Linked DNA regions of Homo sapiens: all the other regions are linked to region 1. Evidence: promoter capture Hi-C in 16 types of primary human blood cells and fetal thymus (Javierre and others, 2016). All regions are on one chromosome and are shown on one strand. The core of a region is centred on a gene start or on the middle of the fragment in contact, and the rest is flanking DNA. Distances in the headings are between cores, read along the strand shown. Region 1 holds the start of MIR1915HG (MIR1915 host gene). Region 2 overlaps LOC107984215 (a long non-coding RNA gene). Region 3 overlaps ARMC3 (armadillo repeat containing 3). Region 4 overlaps LOC107984215 (a long non-coding RNA gene). Region 5 overlaps ARMC3 (armadillo repeat containing 3). Region 6 overlaps LOC107984215 (a long non-coding RNA gene). Region 7 overlaps ARMC3 (armadillo repeat containing 3).

Region 1 (4,029 bases), core at 359-2,858:
ATGAGAGGTAGGGTGAAGGGATCAAGCAGATAGCAGCAGGCATCAGCACACTCCGGCCGTTCCGGACGGTCAGGCCCGCCGCTACAGGGAGAAGTGCGGCGGATGGAGCCAGGGCTGCGGGTTGCGCGCGGGCTGGGAACCCGGTGGTGCCACCTTAAGAGTCGGGTCCGCGCAGCGGCTGCGGAGGCGCCCGGCACCTGCAGGGGGCGCTGCTGCCCCGTGGTTTCTCCCGCGCCGCCGCGTGCAGCGGGCCTGGCAGCTCCGGGGCCCCGGTCCCCGGAGGGGGTGGGGACGCTGGGGGAGGAAGGGAGCGAAGTGCAGCCGTTAGGTAACGAACCCGAACCCTCCCGGATTCAGAAGCGGCCTCAGTGAGGCGTTTGCTGGAGGGAGCTTTCCATCATTCGGCCGCGAGAGGAAACGTGGGGAGGCGCCCTCCCCTGCCCCCACCGCCTGCCTTCCTGCCTCCCTCCACCTCCGCTCCCCGACCCCGACCGTGCTTCCCAGACCCTTTGTTCTCGAGGTTGGGAACGGCTGGGTGGGGGTTCCCCGGGGAAGAGGTCCCCCGCGCCGCTCGGAGGGGAAGGGACTGTCGCCTGCCCCGCACCCCAGCCCTCCCCAGTGCCGTCCCCCTTTCCCCCGGCCCCTTCCATCGCGTCCACGCGCTTCCGTTCTCACTCGGACTCCCCCAACTCCCGAGCTCCGGCTCCCCAGCCTGCACGGTCTGCAAGCCCGCCTCCCTTCCCACTTCCCCGCCACCTCTGAGGTCCCCGGGAAGAGGGGAGGAGAGGGAGACGTGTGGGGGAGGAGAAACCACAGAGCCTTCTCGGCGCGGAGCATTCCCAGGGACCCTTCCAGGCCCCGACCCCTGGGACCCGCTGCAGAGGCAGGGCTTTCCCGGCGCCGCCGCAGGTCGCTAGGGCCGCCCCCGCCGCGTCGCCCTGGGGCCCACGGGTGCACGGCCCGGGCAGCAAGGCAAGGTGCGGCCTCTCAGCGCCAGGACCCGAGACCCCCAGCTGGAGAGAAGGGGACACCGTGGTCCGCGCCCTGGGGAGGCTAATTGCACACGAACGCCCCCCTCTTCCCCGCCCCCCACCGTACCCTCTGCAGCGCCACCCGCGTCGCCTCTCCGCCGTGCGCCACCCTGAGGGCTCCCGCGATTGCATCTTCTTGAGCACAGTTACCAATGCGTTCAGCTTCGTTTCTTACTCGGATGGAGACATCGCGGAGGGAAGCGAGGGGACAGGGATGCGGTAGTAGGGGAAAGGTGGGGCGGGAAACCGAGCAGAGAGGTGGGAGACTTGGCTGAGGCAATGGCACCAGGCAGGGCCGCCCGGAGTCCCGAGTCCAGGTCCGCGAGGCAGGCCCCGGTGCAGCCGCGCCCCGGCCGAACCCTACATGTCCTCTGTACTGTGGACACGAGTCCGCGGAGCGCCAGTCACACCCCCGCACCCCTGCAAGCTCCCGCCGTAGAGGGGGCTCGGCACCATCCTGGTCACAAAGTACGTGCCCCCACCCCCCACCCCCAGGTGAAGAGGACGCAGCCCGGCGCCGTCAGCTCCAGGCTGCCTGGAGCCCCCTCCGGCCTCTCGGCGCGACCCTGGTCCTCAATGGCTCGTCGCGAGCTGCGCTAGCTGCTCTCTCGGCAGCGGGTTCCCCAGGACACACCCAGTCCCCACCCCCCGAGAGCTGGCGGCCAGCTCAGGATGCCAGGCGGCCAGGCGGGCGCCCTGCCAAATTCCGCGTTCCTCTCCAGGAGACGGGGAGTTGCGTCCCAGGCTCGGGAAAGCCCGCAGTTCGGGCTTGGGACTCGCTTACAAAGCCCCCCAAGGCGCCAGGGACGCCTCTGCAGGTTGAATTCCTGCTCCGTATCACTTCAATTTTAATTAATCTTTTAAAACACCGCTGTCACGTCGCTTGCAGAAAATTAATCAAACTTGAATCCTTGTTGCATAGCAAGAATTTCGATCCGAGTCTTTTAAAAAGGACTTGACTTTGCAAAGTCACGTCTTTTACAGTTCCCTCATTCCCCCTTTAGCAAGGGAAATACTGCAAAAGTCAAGACATGTTTGTTTGGTTCTTTCTATCTTCAAAATGAAACTTTGCTTATTTCTGATCTTTATTTTCCTGTCTTTGAACAAAAAAAAATAACGAGATAAATTGCCTACCTCGATTAATTCAAAGTATAATTACTTTGAATGATCTTTGTTTAAGAGCCCAGATAAACTAAGATAATCTTAATTTTAATGTGACACGACCCCTATTTTTCCTTGTGAATAATGAGAATAAAGCAGTCATTAATTAATACCAAGATATCTCCATAGAAGATGGTATCTGTTCTCGCTGAGACACTGAAACATCAGTTGTATTAGTAATTGATACTGTATAATTGAACATGAAGATAGCCGTCTATTTTTAACCTCCAAGCTCAGAGTTTATTTGGTGATTATTGAGCTCCTAATAATTAATTTTTTTCCTTCTTACTGCATAAATAATTCTTACGACTCCCAGTTCCCATGCAATGCAGAGGCTTCTCATTAAAACCTACCCCTCAAAATATAAGATTGTGAAGCTATATTGTGCAGCAACTCCTTCTATTTCATTATTTGTAACATATTTCCTCTATTTCATATCTTCCTGGTGCATTTCCTTTGCTGTGATTTTCCTACTAAATCTATGAGAATATAACTATAACATCTTTTACCATAGCTTTGTCTTTCTGTGATCTCTTGGTTCAGTTTAATACACAATACTTAAGACTTCAATTTTTCAAGTTACTAAAATTTGAGGATGAGTTCCACTGAAGAATCAAAAATACTTGTATAGTGAAGTTGCCATGGATTATATTCCCAACCTAACACACAGTCCACTTTAACTCACACTTTTCTGTTGTTAAAAATAGACTTTGCTCAAACACATTCCCTTTTTCCAACTTGAGTTGAAGAGAGTTCTCACAATTTCCTGGGTTAAATGTACATGCTAACACAACCTTTGACATTAAAAAACAAATTCCCCTCCCGCGTTGGAGAGAAGTCTTCCAAACAGTCATGGAAATTTAGACTGTAGCTTTAAGGTATCTAATTATTTCTTAGCCTCAGTTATTTTGGGGCATCAGAATGATCTTCACTTTTTAAGTGGAAATGGTTATGATATTTTTCTCATACATACAAAAAACTCTCTACTTATTTTTCCAATAAAGTGTCTCCCAAGTATGACATGTTGTATACCACACAAATATTCTTAGTACCTCCGCTACCAAATCCATGCATTTTCCCTGTCAGTGCTCTATCTAAAATTCTGGAAAGTATAGAGGGTTTCCACTTTTATTTCCCCCTTAGTACAATTAAAACTTTAGGTCAATATATAACGGAGTGATTCTCTGCACTTGGATTTTATATTTTCCCACTATAATTTGGACTGGAATGGGATTAAAACAGCATCTAGAGTTCTAATCTTGGTTGATGTTTTGGTGTATTCACCGTAATGAGTCCTATTCTCTGGGGTCATGAAGCTCCCAAATGTCAATCAAGCAAACAGATTCAGAAATGCCATTGTTCGACTCCCACGTCACTCGCCTTCCTCTCATTTTATTTAACAATACCGGAGTTCTCTGATCAGTCATTCGGAATATGAGGCATTATCTGGGGAAAATTCACAAAGTGTCTTGATCTTTCTTTGGGAGATACTGTTAAGGGGTTTCCGCAAAGCATAAAGTGCTTGTTTATATTTCTGTCTTTGGACCGCACTGTGGATGGAAAGAACCAATGAATACTGCTTGAAAGGAAATCATACCGTAAATCCGTCAAAAATTAATTCGTCCAGTTGAATGTTACATTTCTATTTTCTGTTTTCGTGTTGGAAGCACCCTGATTTGTCACCAGAGGAGAAGTATGACCAGGTCTGGGTCCAGTTGACATGCCCCCACGTTCAACCCTGTCTATTTTCACCACTTAATACTATTAATGTGTTTAGTCTAAACTAGTTAACTAAGAATTTATTTGGGGGCGAGGAAGAGCCAACCTTTGCCCTGGG
Region 2 (3,764 bases), core at 973-3,472, 1.6 Mb after region 1:
TCCCTCAGCAGGAGAGTTGAAGGCTTGTCGATGATTGCGCATTGAAATGCGCATTTGCATGCTAATTACCCAGAAAGCTCCTCCAGTTCACGGGGTGTTATGGAAACGCTAGGTCAGAATTCTAGGAGGGGAGAGAGCAGGAATAGAAAATGCAGAGGAACAGGAAATGAGGGTGGTTTAGATGGAAGCAATTGGGATGCAGTCTACTTTTAAAGTCATTTTTTAAAATCCACTTTAGTTGAATTAGTCATGTCAGATTAACCGGAGAACTTGCTCTTGGAGTTGCTCTGACTGGATTTCTGTGTCAAAAGCAAACAACTTATTTTATACTGTGTCATTTACAGCTTAAGGGGAGGCCTTTTCACTCAGGTTCTGAAGTCTCTGTGCCTGAGTACAATAAAATACTGTAGGGAAAAAAAACAGCTTTCTTTCCCATGGCTGGAGTCATGGCGGAGGCCCCTATAACAAAGAACAGATTAACAAGAGAAACGTGTACAACTTTATTTAATGTTAGTTTTAAGTAGCATGGGAGCCTTCATAAGGAAATGAAAACCTGAAGACACAGCGAAGCCTGTTATTTTTATGCTAAATCTGATGAAAAACTCAGTAGATAGTTGTGAAGTATGATTGGAAAAAGGGGGAATGATCTAACTATCATAAACTGTGGGGAAAGTTGTGATCAAGAAAATGGGCTCGCTGTCCAATGTGCACAGAAGTCAATAACTATGGCACCAGCTTTGTAGAAAAGAAAGGCTTTTTTACAAAATCAGCCAGACTGGCTCAAATCTGTCTCTGAGATGTGGGATCTGGGGGCAAGTTTTAAGGGATCAGAGAGAATGGGAAAGGATTTAGGAATGTTGGCTTGGCAGGGTCTGATTGGAGGGCTTCAAGTTTGACCATTTATGAAAAGGTATTGTATTAGTCAGGGCTCTCTAGAGGGACAGAGCTAACAGGATACATGTATATATGAAGGGGCATTTATTAAGGAGTATTGACTCACATGGTTATAAGGTGAAGTCCCACAATAGGCCATCTGCAAGCTGAGGAGCAAGGAAGCCAGCCTGAGTTCCAAAACCTCAAAAGTAGGGATGCCAACAGTGCAGCCTTCAGTCTGTGGCCAAAGGCCCGAGGGCTGCTGGCAAACTACTGGTGTGAGTCGAGAGTCCAAAAGTTGAAGAACTTGGAGTCTGATCTTCGAGGGCAGGAAGCACTGAGCACAGGAGAAAGCTGAAGGCTGGAAGACTCAGCAACTCAAGTCCTTCCACGCTCCTCTGCCTGCTTTTATCCTAGCCACGCTGGCAGCTGATTAGATGGTGCCCTCTAAGATTGAGAGTGGGTCTGCCTTTCCCAGTTCACTGACTCAAATGTTAATCTTTGGCAACACCCTCACAGACATACTCAGGAACAATACTTTGCATCCTTCAATCCAATCAAGTTGACACTCTATGTTAACCATCACAGGGATGTCGAGACAGATTTTTGCCCCAGATCTTCTGAAAGAGTTACAGCATTCAGGTTTGGGTCATGCCCTGGTCTTTTTGGTTCTAAGGGAAGGAATCATTGGTTCCAGGTGTTGTTAGAGGTCAAAGCTTTGTCTATTGTGCACGCCTGCAATTTTTGGCCCTGTTTTACCTAAAAAGTACATGGCTTGCCATTTTCGGCCCTGCTTTACCTACAAAGTAACTTGACATTTTGTTATCAACAGACTAGGCACAATTTGGGCTGGTCCTGTGGTTACAAAGTTAGCAAGACCTGTTTGTTCAGAGTGTTCTCTGTGTCCCTGTGTCTGCAGAGATAAAGACAGGTATAGAGTGGGAACTTCTCAGATGAAGGTCTTATTACCTGTTTCAGGGGAGAAGGGTGAGAAGGAGGTGAAAGAGACCTTCCTGCTTCTGCTGTTTCCTCAAATGTCAGCGTATCGTATATGGAGCAGTGTGTTCTGAACTCCATCCACACAAACACCCAAACTCATGGACTGCTCCAAAAACTACTTGGTCACAGCTCCAAAAGTTCTGTTTAATGGCTAAAAATATACTGTTTTCAAATAGTTATAATAGAAAAGAATTCTTTTCTGATGAAATCTAAAGAAGCTACATCTATTCCAAAAAATCAATCCGTGAATACAATTTGAAAATGTCTTTCTTCCACTAAAAGCAACAAGATAAAACTAAGGTTTTACTCATGCATATAAATGAAAAGTAAAAAGCCCTTTGGTTTTCTTAATTTTCTCCATTCTCTAGATATGACAATGAGTGGCCAACAGTTTTTTCCTTTTTCCCTTTTAAAGAAAATGCTGTTTCTTTTGTTTTGTCATTTTTTTTTCTGTATTGCTTCTGAAAAGTTCCAAAACCCTGAGAATATGCCAAACAAAAGTGGAAATTTTGCTCCCAGTTTCCTAGACTTTGAAAGATGGTGTTTAAGGCTCTGATTCCTTTGTCTATGTTTGCCAACCTTTCTTCTATTCTGAATGTTCTCTGACACACCTGTCCCAGTGATTCTGTGCACCTCAGGACTGCGTTTCTGTATTAACCAGAAACTCTTGGACAACAGGTCCAATGCAACTGCGAGGCATATCCAAACCAGCCCCACCCCAGCCCATAGTGCAAAATTCCTGAGGCCACAGAGCAAGTAATAACAGACACCTGATTTGCTCTCCTCTAAGTTCAAAACCTTTTTAAAAACCGTTTGAACTCTCAAATCTTTAATTAAAAATAGAAATAAAACTTATGTTAATCTTTAAATTAAAAATAGAAGAAAAGTTGTTCTCCTGTTTGAACTGCTCTAGACGGTATCACTGAGCTTCTGGAACAGAATCCTAAGTGTGCATGCAGTTGGAGCAGAAACAGGGCAGGTATGGAAGCTTGCAGCATAGACAATGTGATCTGTAGTGTTTCCTGAGCATGTGTTGAACACAAGTGAACAGTACGCGGGGTTATGAAGACATTTTTCTTATGCTAAGTGCCAGAACAGTGAGCAAGGGAAGAAAATTCTAGCACTTATCTTTACATGTTAAACATTATGTGATGGAGGCTGTTTTTATAAAGGTTAGCCTAGTCTAGGTGGTTGACTCTGATGTAGTTTCATCCTGTATCATGTAATCTCAGATTTCTGAACAAGCTCTCCTGCAAATATGGGTGAGAGACCAATCTGAGGATTGTGTCTCATCAACCAGTGGAACTTACCCTCTCACTACACCCCCTCCCCTCTTTCATCATTTATTTGCAAAACAACTCTGAAGAACTTATCATCTGATAATCACACTAAGAATTCACTTAAAAGGGATTATAGTATCCTAGAAAATAGATTCTTCTCTCTGCTTCAAATAGTCTACTTACAGCTTATTCAGAGTTCACTTATATGAGTGACCCATTTACTTTTTATTTTTTATTTTTCCAGAAAGAATTTTTATTATCTTCCCTATTGCATAGATACCATCACTAAAGGTAGAAATAACAAGTCATAATATTCTTACAGCAACCAAAGGATTCCTAGAGCAAATGAGGGTTTCAAATCTACAGTTAATGAAACAAAGGCTTGTGCTACAATTAGGTTCAATAATACTATAATAGAGTTTTAGGGCTTGACGGATTCCTAGAGTCCATTTTGTTCAACCTTATTTTACAGCGAGGGAAAAACTGAGGCCCAGTGGAGCAAAGTGATTTGCCCCAGGTCTTTTTTATAAACTCCCGGCAATGCTGATTCAGAATACAGGTCTCAGCACTCCCAAGGAAGTTATTTTCCTACTGAAACCACCGTTGCAAAAG
Region 3 (3,958 bases), core at 593-3,092, 1.5 Mb after region 1:
CCTTCTTCCCAAAGGACCATGAAATGTATCTTGGATGAGAAAGGGATTCAACTATAACTTAATTGGAAAAAGATCTCAAAAGTGATCTAGTCTAGCCCTCTTCCTCCAGGCTTGTGAAACTGCCTGCACAGGGCTTTGTCTAGCCTACTTTTAGATACACTCACAACACTTTTAGTCATCTGTTCCAGTATTCAGTTACTTTTGCAGGCAGTCAGCTCTCCCTTAGGTATATAGATGGATTTGCCAATCCAAATACTTCCAGGGGCCAAGATGATAATGATGGGATGAAACAGCCGAGTGTAAAGCAATCGAGATGATAAGGAACTGGATCTGTCCTGCCCAAAGGCAAGAACATCCACAAGCTTCAGGTTCCTATTTCTAATTTTATATATGTATATTGTACATGTGTGTGTTTGTGTGTGTGAAATGAGACACCGCAAACAGCTGAGAATATATTCTATCTGTATTCATTTTCGAAAATATGACCCCTGCAGATACTACTTTTTGGTCCTTAAATTATCTCACAGATAAATCCCGGCACCAAACTGTTGCCTTTGAAGGAGCTCTGCTTACAAGAACCAAGTGACCTACGGGCTGTACTCTTAATCAACAGTAAATCTTACGTGTGAGTCTCTGCAGGGAGAGGGGATGAAGGGAAGCACATACTGCTTGTTGTTGTTGTTTCTCCACCAACGTGTGAATATGCAAAGATTCCCAGACCCTTTTCTCCTGTATCTAGCACCTCCATGAAAATAAACACTGGCTCATAAACTCATAGCCCGACATGGAATAACCATGAAATAGCCACCACTGCAAATCAATGCACTCTCTGCTCTCTTTCTTTGACTCTATACTGCCAGTCAATTTCAAGTGTATTCTGAAGTCAAGGCCTCTTACCATGGAGTCATTGAAGAAAGTGTAAATAGCAGCAAACCGAGATGAATCATGTTTACAATTCTCCAGGACTATGTGCTGGAGTACAGTTACCACCCAACATTTTTCTTTGAAATAAGAAGTAAATGATAGAGCTAAAAATTAAAGCTTCCATGGTCTTCTTTAAAATGACCATGGCCGGGCACGGTGGCTGACACCTGTAATCCCAACACTTTGGGAGCCGAGGCGGGCAGATCACGAGGTCAAGAGATCGAGGCCAACATGGTGAAACCCTGTCTCTACTAAAAAATACAAAAATTAGTTGGGTGTGGTGGCGCACGCCTGTAATCCCAGCTACTCAGGAGGCTGAGGCAGGAGAATCACTTGAACCCGGGAGGCGGATGTTGCAGTGAGCTGAGATTGCACTGCCACTGCACTCTAGCCTGGCAACAGAGCAAGACTCCGTCTCAAAAAAAAAAAAAAAAAAAGAGAGAGAGCGAGAGATCGTGTATATCTATATATCCATATAGTAGTTATGTGATACATTTTATACAAATAATTTCTGTTCTAGCTTATGAAAGGCTTTATAATAGTCTTCTTGCAGTGGCTCATGCCTATAATCCCAACCCTTTGTGAGGTTGATGCAGGAGGATCCTTTGAGCTCAGGAGTTTGAGAGCAGCTTGGGCAACACGGTGAAACCCCATCTATACAAAAAATACAAAAATTAGCTGGGTATGGTAGCACATGCCTGTAGTCCCAGCTACTTGGGGGACTGAGGTGGGAGGATCGCTTGAGCCCCGGAGGTCAAGGCTGCAGTGAGCCATCATCGCACCACTGCACTCCAGCCTGGGCGATAGAGTGAGATCCTGTCTCAAAAAACAAACAAAGAAAAAATGACTTCTCCTTTATACTTTAAAAACAGTATGTCACTGTTAAAAGTCAGCTTCAGTTATGACTTTCAGAAAAAAATCTGTTTCGTGGAATAAAACCATCTGTTGACAAATAATTTTAATCTATATATAATTTTAAATGTGTAAAATTTTAGTTCTCCACCTTCATCTATGGAAGATAAATCAGATGTTGGTTATGGACGAAGTATTTCTTCTTCATCTTCCTTAAGAAGATCAAGTAAAGAAAAGAACAAGTAAGAAAATGATGTTTTATCTGTATGCAAACAGCTTCCCCTTTAATTTGAGTGTGAAAAAATGTTTTAGATTTTAGATTGGGGCAACTTGATTTTTATTCTTCTTATGGTAATACAATTGCATAATTGCCTTTTACATTGCTATGGGAAAGATCTCTGGAATAGGAGCCAGGAAATCTGGTTTCACCTTCTATTTCGCCCTGTGGACCTGCAGTGATTTGGGCCACATGACTTAGTGTCTGTGTGGGTTTCGTTTCCTTAGCTGTGGACGAAATAACACCGGGTCCCTGGCTTCATCATGGGGAAAGGAATCAAGTTATATAATGAAGTAAAAATTGTATAATGAAGTAAAAATGCCTTGTAAGCTCTAAATGCAAATGTAATGTATTGTTGTTTTCCATATGATTGAAATTGGTTGTGGTTTTTTTTCAAATGACAAGAAAAAATAGTTATCATTTTAGTGCTGGATTTGGATCTCCCATAGAAGACAAATCAGAGCCAGCTTCTGGACGAAATACTGTTCTCAGCAAAAGCGCCACCAAAGAAAAAGGATGGAGGTAAGAAAGTGTCCTGAGTTCCTCATTACCCAGCCAGGCTGGTGGAAGGGAGGGGTGGCTCTTCAGTAGGAAGCTTTCTTCTGACATCAGGGTGTTGAACCAGGCAAGACTCATGAGATGAAATTTAAAAGAAACTTGATTTTTGTCTCTTACCATCTCTTTAAAACTTACCCGGAGAGAATTGTCTTCTGGCTCTGGCCAAAAACTCTGGTCACTTGGATCACTTGTAGGAACAACAGGGTCCTACAGTCGCTTTAATTAAAACTTGGCAACAGGGACAGCAGTCTCTAATCAGTCCTTTGAAAGCCCAACCCTGGGTAACCAACTTGGTGTGAGGGTTTCTGCCTCCCACTGCTGACTTTTGCAGGTGGGGAACCCCACACCCAGATGTGTGGTCCCACGCTCTCTCCTCCCGCCCCACTTTTGCTTCCACGGCCCTCCCCACCTCCCTCACCATCTCTGACCCTCCATGGGAGAAGGAATGAGGAGGAGGAGAGGCAAATAGAGCAACGCTCTTACTTGGTTGGGACAATTATAATGTCGTTTTGAGGTCTGTGTTTTGTTTTGTTTTGTTTTCTGAGGCAGAGTCTCGCTCTGTCGCCCAGGCTGGAGTGCAGTGGCACCATCTCCCATCTTGGCTCACTGCAACCTCTGCCTCCCTGGTTCAAGCAATTCTCCTGCTTCAACCTCCTAAGTAGCTAGGATTACAGGTGTGCACCACCATGCTCGGCTAATTTTTGTATTTTTATTAGAGATGGGGTTTCACCCTGTTGGCCAGGCTGGTCTCAAACTCCTGACCTCGTGATCTGCCTGCCTTGGCCTCCCAAAGTGCTGGGATTACAAGCATGAGCCACCCTGCTCGGCCCCACATGTTTACATATTTTTAAAACATACTTCTTCTATGAGAACTTTCCTGGATTCTTTGAAAAACTGTATTGAGTTATGGTAGACTTAAGCCTGTAAGGGCCACGGTGGCATTGGAGGCTGTGGGGAACAGATACCAGACCCCTGCTTTCCAAGGAGGCTGGGCCCCAAGTCTCCCAAGGCGTACGCAGTGGTTTGCCCTCATCCTCAGACTGCTTTATTTTCTGCTCTGGCTTTCTTCTCTGTTGTTAGAGTCTCTGTTGCTCAATATTCTCATCACTGCTACTCATCCATCCCTGTGGTTCCAGTCCCATAGCTTCTGCTTGCTCTCTCCTCCCCTTCCCTGTCCTTCCCTTCCCTCCCTCCCCTTCTCTTCCCTTCTCTCCAGCTTCCCTCTCCTTCCCTTCCCTCCGCTTCTTTGTCCTTCCCTTCCCTCCTCTCTCCCTTCCCATCCCTGTTCTTCTCTTCCTTTCCCTTCCCTTCCCTCTCTTTCCCCTTCCCTTCCCTTCTCTCTCCCCT
Region 4 (3,494 bases), core at 650-3,149, 1.6 Mb after region 1:
TATTGCTATGTCAAGATTTACTTAGTCATTTCCTGGCTGTTAATGACTCTGGATTCATCTGCCATTATGAAAAGCATAACTGTAAACTTCTCTGCAAAACTGGAGCTTTCTTTACTATTGATTTTTTCCCTTGGGATTTGCTCCACAAAGCCAATTTGCCAAATTGTCATCTTTAGTACATGTTGTCAGATTTCTTTCCAGAAAAAGTATGACCCTATTTCTACAGACAGTGTATGAGTTCTTAAAGCTCTGGTAGCTTTAATTCCAAAAAAACACTATTATTAATAATTTAATATGCATGAGGCAATATATTAGGCCATTTTAATTTTTAATTCTTTAATTATTATGGAAGCCAAACATTTTCCCAAGTGTTTGTTCACTATTTGTATTTTTCCTTGTGCAAACCATCTGTTCATATTCTTTAACCATCTGTCCAGTCAGACCTGAAATTGGCCATATAGATAATATTAATTTCCCTAATATATATAATGTTAAATGTTTACTGTTATGTGTATTACAATACTCTCGTATTTTTATCATTTTAATTTTTCTAATTTGAGAGTAATCATTTTTTGTTCTTCATCTTGTGGTATGTATGTATGTACTTAAATTTCATTCACTTGAACCTGTCAACCTTATCATTTGTTCAGTGCTAACTCCTTTTATTGCTTTTATTGTCCAAAAATTATTTTTATTTCAAAATGGATGTATGCAGTATTGTTTTATTTCGTGTGTGTGTGTGTGTGTGTGTTTGTGTATGTGTGGTAGGGAAGTTTAAACTTTCCCTCTGAAGTGAGACTGCTGAAATAAACTGACAATAGAGTAGCAGAAGAAAAAGCATACAAATGTATTAAAGTGCACATGGTCACAAGACCCCCACAAATATGAGACTCAAAGAAAGGCCAAATTGTTGAAACTTATATATCTTCTTCATAGGGAAGAGGGCGATGGCGGAAACTTAGGCAATTTTGAGGGATTGTAAATAATTTTCAGGAAAATTGAATAGGCCCAAAGAGCAGACAGTAGTTTTTGAATTATTCTTTTCGGAAGAAGAATGGGACCCACAGTTATGGGAAGGTGAGGGGCAGAACTGTACTGTGAACAAAGGTTGTCCTATTATGCATTTAATTTTTATTTAAATAGTAAATATTTAAATAATCTTAAATAAATCTTAAATAATAAAGTAATCTCTCAGAGGTGCCATCAGAAGAACAGATAAAAAGTGTTTCAGGGCATAGTGATGACTTTTAGTCTTTCCTCTTCTCCAGTAGTTAATCTTTCCTGGTTATCTGATAAGATTCCTAGTAAAGAGATCTTAAGACAACTGCACTTCTTTTGGAAGACTCAGTGGGAGAAAGCCCTTCTCTTCACTTGTGGGGAAGAAATAAAAAGTTAGAAAGTCGTTGTTTCTGAGGCAGCTTCTAAAGCTTTCCAATTTCATTTAATTCAAAAATGCTCAGCATACCAGAGCACCATACTTGGGGGGTATTGTACTCTGAGCTCTGACATGATACACATATCCACATACTACTTTTAACTCAAAAAATAATTCTTTTGAAGTGAATTATTCATCTAAGCCTTAGACGCCAAGGTTACTTCCCCTGTATTGATAGTCACTTTCCCACAAAAAATATACTGAATAATTTTATATCCCCTTGTTTCTAATAGGTTAAATATGTATTAATTTCTGGAACCTCTTATCTCTCTGGACTATTTTTTGGTTATTATTTCAATCAGAACACTGTTTTCATATCTACTCTTCCTTGATAAGCACTTTTAACATGTGAGAGGCTACTTCTCCAATATTATCTTTAACATAAAAGTCTATTTTTATCCACATTTATTTCAGTTGTTATTTTTTCAATTCCTGTAAAGTAATCCATTGGGATTATAAGTGACATAGCTTAAATCTATAAGTTGAATGTATTTTAACCTTCGTAATTTCAGCTCTTTGGTCAGCAAGTGTATCTTTCCATTTTTCACCACCCGTCATATAATTACAGACTGAAGAGAGTTGAGATATAATTTGAGTTCTAGTTCTAGGCCACCCTCCCCTGTATTCGTGTCATTTTCCAGATAATCAAACCAAGGCCCAGAGACTGGTTTGTCCAAAACATCTGTATCTGCTTAGGAGAACACCTAGAAATTGAACCCAGAGCTTATCCCATGCTATTTTTTTCTATCGAACCATTTATTTAAGTCTTCATTCACTGCCTTTAGAGCTTTAAAACTATATTTTATATATATTAGATGTTCCAGTTGGTTAGTTTCTAGGAATTCTCTAGATTGAGGTAAAACAAAAATGAGTATCGACATTGAACTTTGGGCAGATGGAAGCAGATAAAGTATTTTCAGTGCAGATTAATTGTGTAAAGCTTATTCCAGTCCCTCATTCTTTCCCAAATGGTTTTTGGTAGGGAAAAGCAAATTGGCTTTTGCACTTATCTCCCATTTTTTGGTCATTCTATCCTATCTTTTAGGGATTTTATTATCAAATTTATAGTTTGCAGAGAAGTGTGTTGGATATACAAAGAGTCAAAGTTATAGAATTTTGCCTTTCCTGAAGATTCTCACAATCAAATTCAGGACATCAGATATACACTGTGTCAACTTCATGAAACAGAAAATCCCAGTAACAGTGATTTAAACAAAATATAGATTTATTGGTCTCTCATGTAATTGGAAATCTGAAGGCAGGCAATCCAAGACTAGCATATTGACTCCACACTGTCTTCAGAATCCTGGGCTCCTTCATGTCTTCTACTTCTTTAAAATCAAGATGTGGGTCTCATCTTCATGTATACCAGAAGATTGCCAGTGCTCCAGCCATCATGACTAATTTCCAAGCAGAAACAAAAGACAGAGCAAAAGTCCAGTGCTGAGCCAGCTCCTCTTTAACTAGTTTTCCTGGTAGCTCCCAGTGATGTCTGCTCCTATCATTGCCCATAACAGCATCATATGATTGCCACCAACTACAAGGGAGCTGACAGATGTAACATTTTAGCTAGGCATATTGCTACTCTTAATAAAATCAAAGATCTGTTTGTAAGTAGAGAGAGTGGATATCGGCCAGGCAAATGATAGTCTCTACCACTCAGTGTACAAAGTAAAAGGGAAAACATAAAGTAGAGTTTTGTTCAGGCTAAGACCATGTGTCCAAGAATGTGAGGTTAATGCATGGCCTTGATGGTTAAGTTGGATTCAGATAAATGGTGGTGAGAAGAGGGGACATTTTAAGACCAGTAAGGGCTTGATCACAGATGAGGTAAAGGTCCTCCTAGCAGGTGTAAAGGAGAATGGTGGTAGGGAGGGAGGGACTTCCTCTGTGCTTAGAATGTCTTTCTGGGAGTGTGAGGATATGTAGAAATGCAAGGATAGATTGGTTATCAGCTCTGTTTACCAATTACCGTTGTCCTCATTAAATCTTCAATAACAACTAACGTTTATTAAAACCAAGTATGTACCAAAGGGTTTGCTAGGTGTTTTAACGTATG
Region 5 (3,532 bases), core at 427-2,926, 1.5 Mb after region 1:
ACAATTTGCATTTCAGTGACAAGTTATGTTGATATAAATCTGTAAAATATGAGAGATTAATTACAGCACAAGCACAGATGAAATTATAGTTTTAATTTATGTATATTTGGAGTCTTTTATCTAATAAAAGATGTGATCTTATTTTTCCCCTTCTGCACCACTTTTAGAAATGATGACAGCATTGACTATTTTAAGTGATTTATATTCTAAACATATATACTCACATCTGTATATTGATATGTATACTATGGGAAACACTCCATTTTCAGCACACACTGGATTTCTTCAGGACAAAGCTTTAATGCAGTAAGCAAGATTTCACCATCCAGTATGTAGTGTGCATAGAGGGGCCTCATGAGTTACATTATAAATGCCTATTTGAGAGACTGGTTGTGAAATCAAGGTTTCTTCATATTGGCAAAAGTTGGTTTACCCAGTATTCTATCAAATGGAACTTAGACATTATTCTAGCTGGTCAGTTCTCTCTTCCTTCTATCCTAGTTCTTCTTAGCTAAGTGAGACCCGAAGAGAAGTAAAATGGGGAGACACGGACAATGCCAAACCTGAAATGTTTGCGTATCTCAGCATCTCTTTGGAGAGTATTTATATGTATCAAATGTGGCTGGGTCATTCTAAGACTGTTCTCACTCATTTTGAGGTGGTGAGTTTGATGATGCCTACCCATCATGTGCCACAGTACTGGAAAGTATGCTGCAGAGTTCCTGGTACTAGAGTTCTAGTACTAGTTCCACTACTGGCATTGTAACGACCTACTTAAGTGATTTTGAGTGAACTATAACTTCTCCAGAACAATGTATATATTCGTTTACTCATGATTTCTTACTGAGTTCTCACCCAGAACAGGAAAGTAAACAGGCACTTACAATGCAGTGTTCAAAGTGATTAATGATGGAAACACAGGATCACCCAGGAAGGCTCCCAGCACAGACCTGGATCAGAAAAATATTTCTGAAATCAGTGATTAACAAGCTAGGACCTAGAGTAAATAAGATAAATTGTCTGGTCAAAGAAGGTTCAGATGGGATGGAGGAGGAGAAGTGGTTCTGAGAAGGAACAGGGTGTATAAAAGCCAGAGGAGGGATAACATGGTAAGTTCCAGAACCGAAAGTTTTCAGAATGGCCAATGACCAGAAAGCCACAGAACACTGAGCGCTCAGGCTATGGACGTGGTGAGGAGCCCAGTGCTCATGGACATTATAAGCCCAGTTAAGGATTTTGGACTTTATTTTAATGGCAACAAAGAGCCATTGAAGTTACTCAGAAGGGAGGGAACATCATGGATTTTCACTTGTTAAAGAAAGAGAACTCGTGTTGCAAAGTGGAGAAGAGATTGGAAATGTTTAGGACCAGACACAGAAGACCAAAAGGGGGTTGCTGTAGTAATCTAGGTGAGATGTGAAGGTGCCCTGAAACAGAGATGCGGTGTTCAGGACTGGCTCAAGGCACTTTGCAAGGAGAACCACCAGCACATGTGTGAGTATTTTTGAATGACTATGTTGGTTGAAAGAGGAAGAAGGCGATACCAAGGATGAGGCCAGGTTTCTGGCTTAGACAGCTAGAAGTAAAATGGTGCCACTCACAGAACTGAAGAACTCAAGAAGGGGAGCGGTTTTGCTTGAAGAAAAGGAATCAATCCTATTCTTGCTTTTTAAATTGTGGTGAAATACAAATACTATGAAATTTACCGTCTTCATCATTTTTAAGTGTACATTTCAGTGGCATTAAATGTATTCACATTTTTGTGGTGCTGTCCATCCACAGAAATCTTTTCATTTAGCAAAACTAAAAGTATACCAATTAAACAATCATTCCCACTCCTTCCTCATACAAACTCCTGGCAACCACTATTCTTTGTCTCTATGAATTTGATGACTCTAGATCCCTCATATATATGGAATCATACAGCATTTGTCCTTTTGCAAATGCATAGCACTTGGCACGATGTCCTTAAGTTTCATTCATGTTGTAGCATGTGTCACAATTTCCTCCCTTCTTAGGGCCAAAGAATATCCATTGCCTGTATAGACCACATTTTGTTTATCCTTTCAACCATGGATGGACAGTTGGTTACATCTGCCTTTTGGTTAATGTGAATAATGTTGCTAAGAATGTGGGTATACAGATATCTCTTTGAGTCCCTGATTTCAATTATTTTGGATATATACCTAGAAGTGGAGTTACTGAATCATATGGTAATTATATTTTTAGTTTTTTTTTTTTTTTTTTTGAGACAGTCTCGCTCCATCACCCAGGCTGGAGTGCAGTGGTGTGATCTCAGCTCACTGCAACCTCCACCTCCTGGCTTCCAGCGATTCTCCTGCCTCAGCCTCCTGAGTAGCTGGGACTACAGGCACGCACCACCACACCCAGCTAATTTTTGTATTTGTAGTAGAGACATGATTTCACCATGTTAGCCAAGCTGGTCTTGAACTCCTGACCTCAGGCAATCTTCCCAACTCAGCCTCTCAAAGTGCTGGGATTACAGGTGTGAGCCACCATGCCCGTCCTCTATTTTTAATTTTTTTGAGAAACTGCCATATTGTTTTCTGTAGCAGCTGTACCATTTTACATTCCCATAACCAATGCACAAGAGTTCCAATTTCTCCACATCCTGGCCCACACTTGCTATTTTCTGTTTGTTGATAGTAGCCATCCTAATGGGCGTGAGGTGCTATCTCATTGTACTTTTTATTTGCATGCCCTAATGATTAGCAACTTCAAGCATCTTTATCGTGTACTTACTGGCCACTTGCATATCTTCTTTGGAGACATCTATTCAAGTCCTTCTCCCATTTTTTGATTGGGTTGTTTTCTTGATGCTAAGTTACAGAAGTTCTTTATATATTCTGGATATTAACCCCTTATCAGATATTATTTGAAAACAGTTTCTCCCATTCTGTGGTTTGCCTTTTTACTCTGTTGATTGTGTGCTTTGATGCAAAAAGTTTTAAATTGTGGTGCATTCCAATTTATCTATTTTGTTGGCTATGCTGTTTGCTGTTGGTGTCATATCCAATAACTCATTACCAAATATCAAAGCTTTTGCCCTATGTTTTCTTCTAGGAGTTTTGTAGCTGTAGCTCTTATATTTAGGTCTTGATCCATTTTGAGTTTATTTTTATATAGGGTATAAAATTATGGTCCCAGTTCGTTCTTTTTCATGTAGACATAAATTTTTCCTAGCATCATTTGTTGAAATTGGTTATTTGTAATAGAAAGGAATTCAAGCAGATAGTCTTTAAATCCTTTCTGGCACTTAATGTTTTCTGATTCTACTTCCTTTTGTTAGTTCTAAAATAACTACATTCCAGTTTCAAGTTGTGTCTCCTGTCTTTATGTTAGAATCTAATGACTAACTGTATTTACTTCATATATGTCATCTGTGATTGTATTATGTTCCCTTCAAACATCACTTTTTCAGACCGAAGAATTCAGATCTTGTTTAGTCTCTCTCCACGCATGTCCCCAGGCCATCCTGGGATCATTTTCTTACCTCTTCAGGACTTCCTCT
Region 6 (3,676 bases), core at 878-3,377, 1.5 Mb after region 1:
CAGTGGAAAAATGATAGCCTATTCGGTAACTGGTTTGGGGAAAATTATAATCTTGAGAAGGGAGATTCTATTTATGCCAGAAAAACTAGAAGTCATAAAAGAACATATATGACAAGTTTGGCTACATAAAACTCTTAAATTCCTGTCAGCAAAATACACTGTAAGCAAAATTATTGACAGGGAGAAAAAAAAACAGCATATTTAACAAGCAAAATGTTAACATTCTCAATAAGCAAAGATCTTCTAAAAATCAATAAGAAAAAGACAATACACTTGGAAAATAAACAGAGTTGGCAACACTTTTCTATAGGGGTAATAATCCTCAGATCTCAGTGGCTTAGGTCTTTTATCACATTACATATCAAACATAGGTCAATAGTGGGAGCTCGGTTCCACACAGTCATTCAAGAACCCAGGCTGACAGAAGTTCCTCCATTTTGTACCTGCAGCATCTGGAATACAAGATCTCCTCAGTTGCTACAGCGAGAGGGAAAAGTGCTAAGGATATCCTTCAGGAATTATATGCTTTGGCCTGGAATAATGTGCAATTTGGTCAGAACTAGACCCAAACCATATGGGGTAATATCTGAAACTATAGAGATTTTAGTCAGAATCCTGGGTGTCCCTTAAAACCCTGGCAACTGTTGTGGTTGTGACATTTCAAGACAATTTATATAAAGTAACTTGTAGTTGTTCTGTCAGATCCAAAATCCAGAGTTTTACTTCTGGAGATCAAAACATTTCATTAAAATTAATAACTAACTTTTAAAAATAGCTGTTAATTAAATGGAAAATGGACAGTTAAATAAAATCCGTTTCACAAGCTTTGATCTTTAAGCAAGCATCATAAATGAGAATTGAAGTTTGCACTGTGCTTTTCGTAAGTACACATCAAATGTGTTTAATACTTTTAATAAGTACACATCAAATGTATTATTTCCTTGCCAAAGAAGCAGAACTTCATCCATGAAAAATACTTTTCCAGAAGCTCAAAATAACATGTAAAATCGAATGGATTATTATTTTTTGAGGCAGGGTCACTCTGTCACGCAGGCTGGAATGCAGTGGCACAGTCATAACTCACTGCAGCCTCGACCTCCCAGGGCTCAGGTGATCCTCCCATCTCATAAGTAATTATGGTTTTTGTCATTACTTTTAATGGCAAGTAACTTGTTTCTCAGCAAGATATCTCTTACAGTATTCCCCTGCCAGAGCTGGCAATCTGGAGATGAGGAATGGGGTTTCAAGAGATGGTGCATTTTTCCTTAGAACTATCTAGAGAGAGGCTGTATTTACATGCTCTTTTTTTGTTTGTTTGTTTGTTTTTTGAGACAGAGTCTCACTCTGTTGCCCAGGCTGGAGTGCAGTGGTGCCATCTCGGTTCACTGCAACCTCCATCTCCCGGGTTCAAGCTATTCTCCTGCCTCAGCCTCTCGAGTAGCTGGGATTACAGGCGTCTGCCACCACACCCAGCTAATTTTTATATTTTTAGTAGAGATGGGGTTTTGCCATGTTGGCCAGGCTGGTCTCAAACTCCTGACCTCAGGTGATCCACCCACCCCGGCCTCCCAAAGCGCTGGGATTACAGGCGTGAGCCACCACACCCTGCCACTGTTTGTTTTTAAACTCAACTGAATACGGGGGTAGGATGAACTTACTAAACACTATATGGAAAAATATCACTGTTCTTGGTATATTCTAGGAACAATACATAGTGTCAAGTCACTTATTTAGGGATTAATATTTAAAAGTCCTATTCTTTATTTAAAATTACCTGAGTAGTATTATATAGATCACTAGCAAAAGCTTTGCTTAGGTTTATCATTTTAAAGCCATGAATATAATTAGTTTAATAATAAAAGTGGACTTCATTTCCAAGGACAATCATCAAGGTGTCAGGTGGGACTATATTAATATAGTGAATTCAAATAAAGTTCTTGTGGAACTCACACAGTACAAGAGACCTGTAGGATCTACCAATAAATAAACCACAAATCACAATTTAAAAAATAAAAAGCATTGTTGGAAAAGGTAAAGAAATTTTCTTGTGGTGATTTTACTTATAAATTCAATAAGCCTTTATTATTGAGAATTAAAATAATAGCAGGGATTAAAAAATTCAATGTCTTTATTATTGAGAAGCAATATAATAGCACCTCTTTAGAATCAGAGCTGAGATCAAGTTCTGTCTCTCACTTTTTCTAGCCGTGTGACCTTGAGAGAATTACTTAACCTCTATCTCCCTCAGTTAGTCTTCTGGAAAGTAAGGAAAAATAATAGCAAATATTTATATATTGTTTACGATGTGCCAGAGGCTGTTCTTTGTAGTTTCAACTCTTGGAGTAATCCTGTGATGCATAGGTAGGACTACCCACAGTTAACAAGTGAGAAAACCCAGGCACAGAGAGGTTAAGTAATTTGCCCAAGATTGTCCAGCTAGTAAGCGGCAAAGCTTTCAATTTAAACACAGTTTGGCTTCAGAGGCCATGCTTCCAACCTATATGTCTCATAAAGCTGTTGTGAGGGTGAAATAAGACCATGCATATAAATGACAGGTGGGGGATGGCATATGCATTTGTATATGTGAGTGCGTGTGTGTGTGTGTGTGTGTGTGTGTGTGTGTGTAGCTCTCTATTCTATGCACACATGATGTTCTGTTTGCCTTTAGCATGTTTTAAGGGAATTCCTCATTCTTCAAGCATTTGTCTCTCTCTTGAGATCCCTCTGTAGGGCCAGAGAGTAAATATTTCAGGTTTTGCAGGCTATTCCATCTCTACTGCAGCCACTCAACTCTGCTATTGCAGCACAAAAGCAGCATAGATAATACCTAACCAATGAAACTGTATCTACTAAAACAGGTGGGGGGCCAGATTGGCTCACGGACCATAGTTGGTCAACCCTTGCTTTAGATGATGAGCACTTTGAGGATAAGGACATGGAAAGGCTTCAGTTTACTTAGTATAATCCCTGGGCACCTTAGCTAAGTATTCAGGGGAGACTCCCACCCTGGCATTTGCCTTTCCTGGTTTCTCTGGGCTCTAAGATGGATCTGCTTGATGTTATTCCAATGGATGCCAACACAGATGCCTTATTTTTCAATAGGATGAGGACAGATTTGACCAATCTACATAAGAAAATAAACCTCCTATCTTCTATACTTTTGTTAAGAACTGTGAAGGGTCTGAGATTTTATCCTACTTGCAAGCTAACTGCCAATTTTATTGTTGCTGGAATAAGACATGAGATATCTGGATCAGAGACAAAGGATTTTATTACTCACAGCAAAGCAAGCAGCATGAGCCAGGCTATTTGTGTCAAATCTCCTTGCTCCCAAGTCTCATGGGGAAAACATGGATAGACCCAGATGGATGCCTATCAATGCAGTGGTTTGTGTTACAGAAGAACTCTGAGCTTAGAGAACCCAAATCCTTTATAGTGAGCAGCAAGGGCCAGGCGCAGTGGCTCACACCTATAATCCCAGCACTTTGGGAGGCTGAGATGGGTGGATCATCTGAGGTTGAAAGTTCGAGATCAGCCTGACCAACATGAAGAAACCCCATCTCTACTAAAAATACAAAATTAGCTGGCCATGGTGGCGCATGCCTGTAACCCCAGCTACTCAGGAGGCTGAGGCAGGAGAATTGCTTGAACCTGGGAGGTGGAGGTTGCAGTGAGC
Region 7 (3,898 bases), core at 641-3,140, 1.5 Mb after region 1:
TTCCATGTCATCCCCATGAAGAACTGAGTGATTTACCTAAATCTTAGAGACCCTTTTATTACCATTTCTTTGCTTTTTATTTTTTATTTTTTGTACCCCTTTTGACTTTCCATGACAGCAGTGACCCAAGAAAGTTCTAAATGTTAGCACATATAGTGGTGACTGAAAAATTAATTGATTGATTACTGGCCCATTGCCAGCTTCTACAATACCAGAGACAAAAAGCTCTTCCCCAGAAACTGTCTTGCTGTTGTGTTCCCTATGGTCAGGACCGCACAAGGGAATGATGAAATTGTAAGCAGTACACTCCAAAGGGACTCCACAAACAGATAGAATGCCCCCAAATTATATGGATGTGCATTTGAGTGCTTTGGGAAGCTTAGAATGTCCTCGTTATATATGGATAACTTGTCATTTTGTATTATCAGTATTAAACATTCTTTTCGCTAATATAGAAATAAAGCATTGACTAATTTTAATACTTATTAGAATTATTCATGGAGTATCATGCCTGAGAATGCCATGCAATTTGTAGAGAAAACTTTAGAACGTATGCCACATACAGAACTTCACACAGTGTTTCAAGAAAAGTCAATACTTCATCTAGTGCTTCAACAAAAATCAGTGCTGCATTTACTCACAGTGACCAAAGTCCTTTATCAATCATTTCAGTATTGTCAGGGAGGGGCATGATCTTAATGATTTCCTGGAATGTTAAGTTTCTCCAGCAGAAATAGAAAGCACTTTTCAAACCTTTTGAAAAATTTCTCTCCCATTCAGTAAAGTTGGTGGGAAGATAATGTATTGTGTATTTATTGTTACCATTTCTTTTATTCTATTGATTTTAGGCTAATGGTTTCTCCTTAGAATTGCCTATATTTCATAGTGGAATGAAGGCTGAGTGCAGTGAATGATGATGGTCATTTTGAAGGGGGGAAAAATCTCTTAAAGTTAGCAAAATACAAACCACAAGTTCCACTTTTCCTTCTCCATCCCTGTACAGGAAGAGATGAAATGGCTAGACATGTGTCCCATCACCCTTTGAAAAATAAATGTTAACACCCTATTCTTAGAACACACTTCTTGGCCAGTTACACAGACCCACTTACATAAGTAATCCTGTCATTGAGAATACTTTTTACTAAAGAAGCATTGACCATAGAGATAATCCACAGTGATTTACAAAATTAAAACGTAGTCCCATGAAAAATGCAAGTTCGTGTTGTAGACTTGATGTATAGGTTGCATTTAATATTGCTAAGGTTGTACAGCTATTGTCTTTGTTGCATAGGGTTTTTCATTTTCGGAGAGTTCCATTTTCTAACAATGCAAGGAACTGCGTCTTCATACTGACCCCTAGTGGCCGATTAGGAGGACGTTGGGGGAGGGGCAAAAAAGGTAATGGAAGGATGGTTCTGTAGTTTAATGAAACGTACGTTAATTTAATTTGGAACACTCTCCAGTGTATCTAAGATAATATTTCCAAAACATTTTTAAAAGATTCCGATCTGAAAATCATTTCAACATGCTGCTTTTAGAGATAATATTCTACTGCTAAACGTGTGTTTAACAGATGCTTGTGTTTGACTTTGTCCCCTATTAAGGTGTAGTCATTTACAAATGTTTTGACGCATTCATTGTACCGGTAGCTGGACATCTTCTGTGCTATATAACCAGATAGGATAAATGTAATACTCTTGAACAACATAATCTAAGAAATCTCATTGCTATTATGGTTTCTCTAGAGTCGATTTTTTGCTCTTGACTTTGTATAATAGATTTTGTTTTACATTCTTATTTATATCACTTTGTTGTAAAATTCTAGATCCTTTGAATTAGAATACTCACAAGATGAGTATCTTGCAAGATAGCTAATTTCATAAGTTTTTAGGAGGTTTTGTTTTGTATTAAGGATGAGCTCTGGAAGAATGTATTTAACATGTTAATTAATGCCTTAAAAGTCCTCTGGAATTAATAGATAAAATAAATGGGAAAAGTCCTCATGGTAAACCTGAGAATTATTCTTGCATTATTTCTGTCCAAGTTTACTGAGTGGATGCTTTTCTTTCTGCCCCTTAGAGCCTAGATTCCTCCCTGTCTGATGGAATCTTATTCTAAACATTGGTTATACTGGATTGGAAAAATCATACTGAATTTGGAAAACAGAGAATGAAAAGCTGAATTTTGCAATAGAACAAGTGGATTCCCTATCCCCATTTCATGTCAGTGGATGCCCACCTGACCTTGACTAACAGTTTGAATTTGATTAGCTACTGATTTTGTGAGGCCAAGTGAATCCCATAAAATGTTCAATTAGAAAATTATCCATGCTACTTTTATTACCTACAGTGCAGAGACTGATATTTGCATAACCTCGTTTTAAAGTTGCTAGTACTCTCTTTCAGGTTTAATTTCCAACATTACTGATTTTCAGAGGAAATCTTTATATTGTGTGATTTCCCCCCCCCACTTCCAATTTGAAGCATACTTAAACCTATATAAGGTTATTTTTACCAACCCTTGACTTTTTATGTTAATCATTTCTCTTGATTTTTCTTCACACTGGAAATGGTCCTTACCACTCATTGATTACACTTGAGTGAAAGGCTTGAGTAGGATTTCTGAGGAAACTGCCCCAGCTCTAGCTCTGCAGGTGTAGGAGATTTTGCTGTTTAGCTAAAAATTGTCTGAAAATGAAATTTTCATGCACACACACAAGTTTTACAATATGATCTTACGTTTCCATGATCTGAAACTCTCTACCCTTGTGGCTCACTGAATGTTAAGAGGATGATGATGTTGTTGAAAGCTAGCAGTTATCGGCCAGGTATTAAGCTAAGTCCTTGAGTGGAATATATCATTAAATCCCAGAGCAGTCCTATGGGGGAAGGAATATTATTGTCATGCCCATTTTGCAGATGAGGAAACCAAGGCCCGGTGCTTACTCACAGTCACAGAGGTGGTCTGTTCTGTAGGTCCCCAGGGAGCTGGTAGGAGCTGAACCTCTTACTCTCCACCCCGGCAACTTTTCTCTCATTCTTTCCTCATCAGTGCCTCCAGGACCCTTAACTTCTCCACATTTTCCCCACCAGAAATTTCCCTTGTGCTGAAATTCATGATCTCTTTGAATTCCTCCAGCACTCCTTGTACTCACTCCAGTAGGCACCTTGAAATCATCTTTCATCCCTTCCTTTCCCTTTCTCTTTGCTTCTGACCCTCCCTCCACCTTTTTCCCCGGGTTCCTTTCCCTAGTCTCCCTTCTCCCCCTCTCTGCTTCCTCTGCCTCCTCCTCTCTGCTTCCTCTGCCTCCTCCTCCTTCTCATTTTCCATTCCCTAAGGAATGATGTCCTAAAGCAAGTAAATTCTTTTGGTTTTTGTTTTCCTGAAAATACTATACTTTTTAAAGCTTAAGAGGTTGAAAAATGTAAAAACTAATAAATTAAAGGTCAGAAAACCATGTGTTTGTTTTTCCGGTCTCTGTTGATTAACTTACCTTTGAGCAAGTTTTAGTCTCTCTGCATCCTGTCTTTTTTGACTATGAAACAAACAAGTAAAAATGAATCTATATAATCTACTGTATTTTGTGCATGTAAGAGATTACCCCCTAGCCAGTATCACAGGGAGTCTGGAATCCAGCTTCTTCCACTGGGGGCCGGATGTGATCCGTCGGTACAGCTGTTATCATTTCACCCCAAAATACAGGGAACTTACCACCTTGACTGTAGGTTTTTTTTTGTTTTTTCTTTTTTGTTTTGTTTTAGGTTTTTTTTTTGGTAATGATTCTACCATTATCTGGGTATCCTTTACCTGCTGGGCACTGTGCTAGGCTCTTGGGGTACCACAGGAAAGGAACACATCAGGCCTACATTTCAGTCAGGGAGGCCAGCAGTACACAAGT

What was found. The method cuts DNA at HindIII sites, captures the fragments that hold promoters and counts their contacts. A CHiCAGO score of 5 or more calls a contact.
Region 2: a contact is called between a fragment that was not itself captured here and the fragment with the promoter of MIR1915HG in region 1, in 2 of 17 cell types (neutrophils and total CD8 T cells). The highest score is 7.2, in neutrophils.
Region 3: a contact is called between a fragment that was not itself captured here and the fragment with the promoter of MIR1915HG in region 1, in 2 of 17 cell types (naive B cells and naive CD8 T cells). The highest score is 7.9, in naive B cells.
Region 4: a fragment that was not itself captured here is called in contact with the fragment with the promoter of MIR1915HG in region 1 in 2 of 17 cell types (non-activated CD4 T cells and activated CD4 T cells); the score reaches 5.3 in non-activated CD4 T cells.
Region 5: a fragment that was not itself captured here is called in contact with the fragment with the promoter of MIR1915HG in region 1 in 1 of 17 cell types (total B cells); the score reaches 5.9 in total B cells.
Region 6: a contact is called between a fragment that was not itself captured here and the fragment with the promoter of MIR1915HG in region 1, in 1 of 17 cell types (erythroblasts). The highest score is 5.4, in erythroblasts.
Region 7: a contact is called between a fragment that was not itself captured here and the fragment with the promoter of MIR1915HG in region 1, in 15 of 17 cell types (total CD4 T cells, total B cells, fetal thymus and 12 more). The highest score is 16.6, in total CD4 T cells.

The regions. Positions count from the first base shown.
Region 1 is chr10:21,495,652-21,499,680 of GRCh38, forward strand. It overlaps MIR1915HG (MIR1915 host gene), which reads right to left and starts at 1,609. Exons shown (of 2, transcript NR_160800.1): 1 at 1,099-1,609; 2 at 1-294. MIR1915 (microRNA 1915) reads right to left here and starts at 990; the gene lies at 911-990. RefSeq lists silencers at 90-529, 580-629, 840-1,089. The HindIII fragment of the contact is 8,649 bases long and covers 1-4,029 here.
Region 2 is chr10:23,056,017-23,059,780 of GRCh38, forward strand. The region is part of intron 2 of LOC107984215 (a long non-coding RNA gene); the gene reads right to left. Among named protein-coding and RNA genes, the nearest start is that of MSRB2, 38 kb to the right of the region's middle. RefSeq lists an enhancer at 1-300. The HindIII fragment of the contact is 1,271 bases long and covers 1,588-2,858 here.
Region 3 is chr10:23,006,357-23,010,314 of GRCh38, forward strand. It overlaps ARMC3 (armadillo repeat containing 3), which reads left to right. Exons shown (of 19, transcript NM_173081.5): 14 at 528-625; 15 at 1,920-2,018; 16 at 2,459-2,575. The region is part of intron 2 of LOC107984215 (a long non-coding RNA gene); the gene reads right to left. Among named protein-coding and RNA genes, the nearest start is that of ARMC3, 80 kb to the left of the region's middle. The HindIII fragment of the contact is 1,607 bases long and covers 1,040-2,646 here.
Region 4 is chr10:23,088,781-23,092,274 of GRCh38, forward strand. The region is part of intron 1 of LOC107984215 (a long non-coding RNA gene); the gene reads right to left. Among named protein-coding and RNA genes, the nearest start is that of MSRB2, 5.1 kb to the right of the region's middle. The HindIII fragment of the contact is 948 bases long and covers 1,426-2,373 here.
Region 5 is chr10:22,969,213-22,972,744 of GRCh38, forward strand. The region is part of intron 8 of ARMC3 (armadillo repeat containing 3); the gene reads left to right. Among named protein-coding and RNA genes, the nearest start is that of ARMC3, 43 kb to the left of the region's middle. The HindIII fragment of the contact is 2,764 bases long and covers 295-3,058 here.
Region 6 is chr10:23,039,780-23,043,455 of GRCh38, forward strand. The region is part of intron 2 of LOC107984215 (a long non-coding RNA gene); the gene reads right to left. Among named protein-coding and RNA genes, the nearest start is that of MSRB2, 54 kb to the right of the region's middle. The HindIII fragment of the contact is 646 bases long and covers 1,805-2,450 here.
Region 7 is chr10:22,987,707-22,991,604 of GRCh38, forward strand. All of the region lies in intron 10 of ARMC3 (armadillo repeat containing 3), which reads left to right. Among named protein-coding and RNA genes, the nearest start is that of ARMC3, 62 kb to the left of the region's middle. The HindIII fragment of the contact is 3,028 bases long and covers 377-3,404 here.